2 separate regions of the Homo sapiens genome follow, and region 1 is linked to region 2. The links are contacts of gene promoters, found by promoter capture Hi-C in blood cells and fetal thymus (Javierre and others, 2016). All regions are on one chromosome and are shown on one strand. Each heading gives the region's core, a stretch centred on a gene start or on the middle of the fragment in contact. The rest is flanking DNA. Distances are from core to core; before and after follow the strand shown. Region 1 overlaps LINC00265 (long intergenic non-protein coding RNA 265). Region 2 holds the start of YAE1-DT (YAE1 divergent transcript).

Evidence for each region. Contacts are between HindIII fragments. The CHiCAGO score rates a contact against its expected background, and 5 or more counts as called.
Region 1: a contact is called between a fragment that was not itself captured here and the fragment with the promoter of YAE1-DT in region 2, in 13 of 17 cell types (activated CD4 T cells, total CD8 T cells, megakaryocytes and 10 more). The highest score is 11.2, in activated CD4 T cells.

The regions. Positions count from the first base shown.
Region 1 is chr7:39,754,317-39,757,863 of GRCh38, forward strand. All of the region lies in intron 1 of LINC00265 (long intergenic non-protein coding RNA 265), which reads left to right. Among named protein-coding and RNA genes, the nearest start is that of LINC00265, 23 kb to the left of the region's middle. RefSeq lists an enhancer at 1-504. The HindIII fragment of the contact is 3,115 bases long and covers 680-3,547 here.
Region 2 is chr7:39,565,091-39,568,572 of GRCh38, forward strand. It overlaps YAE1-DT (YAE1 divergent transcript), which reads right to left and starts at 1,259. Exons shown (of 3, transcript NR_187579.1): 1 at 1,053-1,259. It overlaps YAE1 (YAE1 maturation factor of ABCE1), which reads left to right and starts at 1,314. Exons shown (of 3, transcript NM_020192.5): 1 at 1,314-1,457. The coding sequence starts at 1,329. It also overlaps the pseudogene TMX1P1. RefSeq lists an enhancer at 1,151-1,600. The HindIII fragment of the contact is 5,827 bases long and covers 1-2,027 here.

The DNA of each region.
Region 1 (3,547 bases), core at 987-3,486, 190 kb after region 2:
CTCCTTCCACACATCTCCGCAAGCCGAGGGAGTCGGCTCCGGCCTTGGCCAGCCCAGAGAAGTGCTCCCACGGTGCAGCAGGGGGCTGAAGGGCTTCTCAAGCACGCCAGAATGGGCCCCGAGGCGGAGGAGGCACCGAGAGCGAGCGAGGGCTGCCAGCATGCTGTCACCTCTCACTGCCTCCACCACCAATGCTCATTCCACCTCCCCTTGTACTTCAATACCTCCCTGCGCTTTCCCAGTTTCAACTCACAGAAGGGAAAGCTGCCGGCAGGCCAGCACTGGGGCTCTTTTTGTTTAATATTTGCCTAGTTGTTGAGTAAGGATGGAGACAGACTTAAATCATTAAGTGGGATTTCTATTTTTAGACATTTCTCATTCTGCTGAATAGAAAATTTAAAAAGAGTGCATTCCTGCCTCAAGGAATGGTAGGACTTTTTGAGGCTTAATGACTAAGGGAAACAAACGTGTGCTTCAAAGTACACTGAGCACTTAGGTTCAGTGAATGCTTTCTCAAATACACTTTGGATCTAATATAAGAACTCAGTTTGTCCTGGTGCAGACTTATCTGGGAGCATTAATACTCCTGGGCTTAAACAAACTGCCCCAGAACACAGTGCTGAGAGCAGGAGACCCTGACTGGCCTCAAATCTGTTAAGATGGCAATCAATCATTTAGAAGCTTTACAACCAGGAGAAAAACGAGCGTGAGAGGAAATGTGAAACGATGACACATCATCACTCTCCACTAGAGCCCTCCAGTTTCTGAGAAAGATGGAAACTCTCTCATTGGAAAAGGCAGAAAAATAAACATGCTAACAATGAAAATTCTTAAGATTTTTTTAAAAAGAGAAACTGAGAGGAAAAATCATATCTAAGTTCTTCTAGAAAGATCACAATTTCACAAAACCTATTGTTTGGAACAAAAACCTGGGTTTAAGTTTATTTTATTTAGCTGAGCACATTTAGTAGAATTATTTCAAGTGTCTGCCTTAGTACAGACTTTTCAGAAGTGGGATAAATGTACAGTTTCCTGCTACCTAGAGCTGCTGTGAGAATTAACTAAATTAAAAACCAAAAAATGACAGGCAGTAGATAGACTGAAATCTTTCTCTTAAGAGTTGTGCTATGGCTGAGTGCAGTGGGTCATGCCTATAATTTCAGCACTTTGGGAGGCCGAGGTGGGAGGATCACTTGAGCCCAGCAGTTCAAGACCAGCCAGAGCAACATGGCAAAACCCCAACTCTACAAAAAATACAAAAAAATTAGCTGGGCATGCTGGTGCATGCTTGTAGTCCCAGCTACTAGGGAGGCTGAGGTGGGAGGATCATGTGAACCTGGGGAAGTTGAGGCTACAGTGAGCCATGATCTCACCACTGCACTCCAGCCTGCTGGGCAACAGAGTGAGACCCTGCTTCAAAAGAAAAAAAAAAAGTCGTGCTATGAATTAAAAAAAAAAGAAACTAAAATATTTACTGCATGAAAATGAAAGAATTAGATTGGACTCTACCTGTGCTCTAGTTCCAATTTCACTGTCTCTCTTTAGCCAAGTATCAGAGGCATCTGTTGTTTTGTTGTATAGATGCAAGTTGGGCATCCATGAACCAGCTTATTGGATATTGGTGGTGGTGGTTTTCACTCAGCTCTATTCTGTAGAAATAGTACCCCAATTTTGCTTTGGGGAATCACCCTCCCTGTCTGAGCCCACTTGCTTCAGGTGAACCTGAATCCATCTACAGCCTCCTAGGGAGTAGAAAGTGAGTGAGGCTAAGCTCACCAGCACAGCCTCTTTCCCCAGATGACAGTCATTGGTTCAGGGAAAAAATGCATGACACAAATTAAACCCAGAGTATTAAAAACTTAATTGTTGGTGGGAAATGCCAAATGTTATAACCTTATGGAGGGGAATCCAGCAGTCTCTAAAGAGAAATGATAATAGAATGCAATTAATAATCTGTGGTTTTCTTTTCCTATAAAAGATATTATCAGGAAAATGGGTGAAATTTAAGATCTGTAGATTAGTTGATATTATTGTATCAGTGTTAATATCTTGAGTTTGATAATTTTTATTGTGGTTAATGTTCTTATTTTAGGTAACACTGAAGTATTTAGACATGTAGGGTCATCACATCTGCAACTTATTTGCCCATGGTTCAGGAACAATTACATTACACACACACACACACACACACACACACACACACACACACACACACCAGATAATAGATATAGAAAGTAGGAGGGCAAGAGAAAGAATGACAAAGCAAACGGGCTAAAAATTTAATAACTGGGGAACTTGAGTAAAGGGTATATAGCAATTCTTTATACTGTTCCCAAAACTCTTCCATAAATCTTTATTATGTTGTAAACCCAGAAAATCTGAGATAGGTCTCAGTTAATTTAGAAAGTTTATTTTGCCAAGGTTGAGGATGCACCCATGACACAGCCTCAGGAAGTCCTGATGACATGTGCCCAAGGTAGTCGGGGCACAGCTTGGTTTTGTACATTTTAGGGAGACATGAAACATCAGTCAATATATGTAAGAAGTACATTGGTTCGATCTGGAAAGGCAGGACAACTCAAAGCAAAGGGAGGAAAACTGGAAGTAGGATGTGGCTTCCAGGTCACAGATAGGTGAGAGACAAAGGTTGCATTCTTTTGAGTTAATACTTGGACTGAGCTAATGTTCATCCTAGGCATCCTCTTCTCAGGGGAAGAAAGAAGCATGATCCGTAGAGCTGCTATGGTGGTCTGATAATGTGAACACCCTCCTGGCCAAAACGTTCCTGCAGCAGATCAAAAATTCCCCACCAAAGACCCCCAGTGGGAAAATAACAATGCAGCCCACTACATATGCAAGACCTTAGGGAAATGATAATAAAAGGGATTAAAGAATCAGTACCCCAAATCCAGAACCTTACCCGAGCATTTGATATACAGCATGGGCAAGATGAAGGGCCTATAGAATTTTTAGACAGATCGAAGGAACAAATGAGACAGTATGCTGATCTAGATCCTGAGGATCCTCTTGGATGGGGAATGTTAAAACTTCATTTTGTTGTTAACAGTTGGCCAGATATTTCAAAGAAATTACAAAAGATGGAAAATTGGAAAGACCATCCTGTGGAGGGTCTGTCCTGCAGGCCCCAGCTCGCATGATGGATGAATAATGTACCCAGACACCGATATTCAGTGAAAGTGCCTCTAGGGATCCGAGCTGCTCACAGACACCAAGGAAGGTGGTGTAAAGAATCAGCAGCCACAGCCCCAATTAGCTGTCCCTGTGGGCATTTATTTGGCACAGTTTTAATGACAAAGGCTTTGAGTCAACACACCTGTGGGTAATTAATCTGGTCGCCCCCACCCCAGGAGAGCTATCCCGCCCTTGAGTGATCAAATGTTAGTTGTAGGACCACATGAGTAAACAAGCTCTTTAGATAAACTTCTCCACATTCCTATGTATCTGCGCCCTAAGCTCTCTGGCTCCTGAAAAGAGGATTTGGCTGCCTTCAGCCAAACTATCTGAAGTTATGCCAAACTTCCTGGCC
Region 2 (3,482 bases), core at 9-2,508:
CTCCTTCTGCATCAGTGGTTATCTCATTTCTCATTCTTGTATAATTTTGTTCTCTTTAAAAATCTGGGTCATGACAGGATTATCTATCTTATTGGTGTTTTCAAATAATACAAAAAAGAATTGGACTTACTTATTCAAGTTTTGAGGTTTTCTATTTTATTGTTATCTTTATTGCTTACTACCATTTTGTTCCTAATAAAGATATATACATATATCTTAATATATTTACATTAATAAAATATACATATTTGTAGTTTATATATTTTTTATTTGTGGGATGCCAAATTCTCTCTGGAGATTTAAAATTGTAACATGAACCAACCACCCACTCCCACACACTTATGGTTCTTACTGTGCTTATTTAAAAATTTTTTTCATAGCATTTATTTATGATCTTCTAACAAACCTTATGCTACTTATATATTGCTTATTGTTTATCCTGTCAATTTTACATGACTATAAAGTCGACAAGGGTTGGGAACTTCCGTCTGTTCATTGATGTATCCCAAAGCCTGGAATGGTACCTGACACAAGGTAGGTGTTCAATAAATTGTTAGATAAATAAATCATAATCACATGACTCATTTTACCCAGGCAAAGGGCAAAACAGGAATACTACAGGTATTCATTCATTCACCAAAATAGAGTTCAGCATTTACTATGTGTCAGAACTGTCCTGGTGTTGACACAAGTCCCCACCCTTACCAAACCAACTGTTTACTTTAGGGCATATGAACAGGAATGGGAGGCAGAAGGATATCGTGAATCAATGAAAAAATATATTGGCTTTACAAATGTACTCTATATTTCTTACTAATCTCAAATTGGCTACAGTACCTCGCTTTTCGATCCTATTTTCCTTTACTCCACAATCCTAACAGTTTAAAATGTCGGCTTGTCAAATCCTTTAAATGCAGAGGAGATTCCAAAAGAGACAAAGTATTTGGGTGGTAATCGCCCATCGACTTTACTACCTTTAATAGTTTACCAAAGCGCGCGAATGTAAAACCCAGACCATGGTAAGACTACGGTGGAAATGGAAGGTGTCTCACTGAGGGTCCCGGTTGCCTTCTGCAAAGGTGAAGGTCGTGCCGGCCACGCGAGGAAATCTGCCTCGCTCACAACTCACAGGCACACATCAACACTGCCAACCGAGGGAGCCCAAAATCACCGCAAGCGAAAGGCTCCGGCGGCGGCCACGGGCCACAGCCCGCCTCCGCGCACACGCAGCCCCTCCCGAGCCTCCACTCGCCGTCTTCGCCCCGCCTTCGGACCGGAAGGAGTTGTTGGCGCTTCCGGTGGCCTGCGACCCCGTAATTGCCTCGGTGATGTCGTGGGTTCAAGCAGCCTCCTTGATCCAGGGCCCTGGAGACAAAGGGGACGTGTTTGACGAAGAAGCAGACGAGTCGCTCCTGGCGCAGCGGGAATGGCAGAGTAACATGCAAAGACGAGTCAAAGTAAACGTGGTGTGGACGGCGCGGGGTGCTGGGTTGTGGGAAGAGGCGCGGAGTTGTGAAGAAGCTGGGTCCAGAGTGGCCCCAGCCTGGCCCGGCGCTGCTCTCTTTATCCCTAGGGACCCGGTCCGACCCGCGTCTTGCTAGGATTTCTCGATGGTTACTTGAAAGCGTGTAAAACAACAAGACGCATTCTTTGAGCGCCTACGGGATGCGTTAGAAACTGAGGACCGACCAAAATTAACTATGTGTAGACTTTGAACAGTTTGCAGTTTGTTGAGGATCACAGGGAAAGGAGCTGGAGAGAAACATACACTATACTTATTATGGCTGTCAAAGGACGTGTACGCAGTTTATATGGGTGGCTTGAATGGGTAGGGAGCCTAAAGTTAAGGAGTAGTGTTAATCAAGACATATTGAAAAGATGAACTAAAGCATGCTGTCAGAGGACAATAAGGGAAAGCTAATGTGGAATACTGGTGTCTAGGTAAGGGAATATTAAAGTTGGTTTCTTTTTTATTTGTTAGATGTAACTTTTTCATCTCTAATTTGTCTCACTATTCATTGAAACTAAGCTTAATTTCTGTGTGCAGCCTACAGTATTTCTGGGTGAGGACCAAATAGTGAGGTCCACATCCACTTAATATATTTGCCAACCATTAAATTGCCGCTAAAGCTGCAGTTGGGAATCTGCCCTGTTTAATATTTCAGTAGAGTGGTATTTGCTTAGCCCAAAAACCATGTTGTCAATTACAAAAATGCTTTATGTGAGACTGGGGCCACACTAATAAGTATTGAGCATCTTTTAAATGCTGTGGCACCGTGAGAGATGCAGAACGAAATCACTACCCACAGAGCTTTTGCAGGTTAGTTGAATTTAGGTATTATGCAAAATTTCTGAAACCAGACTTCTCATCATCCTTTTTTTTTTAAACAATTTCCTCTCTCTGCTTTGCCCTGTCTCCTCACCCACCCACACCATTCCAATCAGTTGGCAAGAGCCCAGATGTGTAATTTTCCATATATCCTTTTTGTGAAGACATTGCTAATGCTGGGTTTTGTTTTTTGTTTTTTGGTTTTTTTAATCTTTTGAAGTGATTAGAAAAGTTTATTTTGTGCTTAGGATATTTTTCTAAGGCATCACAGGTTACACATCCAAACTCTTCAATGGTATAATATTTTATATTCTAAAGGAGAGACCTTTAAAGAAAACTTGTACATTATGCTACTATAAGTCTAGTGGATTCTCCTATCCGCAGAGCCTAGAAAGAAGGGGACATTACAGAAATTGTCTACTACATAATGGTCAGTTGATTCATTGTATTTATGGTTTTCCCCCTTCTTGTAAGGTGAAAACTATGTATGCCCTTTAAGGAGTATGCTCTTTAAGGAGTAAAAATACACTAAGTGTACCATCCTGTTGATTTCTACCTGTAAGATACCACACAATATTAGCAGTTAGGAAAGAACAGGAAAATATGAAGTTTGTATCTTAAAATATAAAAATGTGTGGCGAAACCCCATCTCTACTAAAAATACAAAAATTAGCCGGGTATAGTGGCGTGCACCTATAGTCCCAGCTACTTGGGAGGCTGAGGCAGAAGAATCACTTGAATCCGGGAGGCAGAGGTTGCAGTGAGCTGAGGTCATGCCACTGCACTCCAGCCTGGGTGACAGAGCGCGACTCCATCTCAAAAAATAATGATAATAATAAATATATATATATATAGTTAATGATTTTGAAACATCAAGCATTACAGACTGTAAAATTAATTAAGAACTTTCTGTATATGATGCCAAAGATACATTTAAAACATATACAAGAAGATGCTTTTTCCTGAGTAGAATGCAAACTTTGTTTTATATTAACCTTCTGTGAATTTTCAAAATGTAAAATACCAGGACTTTTCCACATCAGACAAAAATCAGGAATGTTCACCTTCACATCCAAAAAGAAAAATTTTAAAAGACAATTTCAAGTAGTTCAGCAAGAATGATTTAAAATCTGAAATGAATGGCCAAAATTTT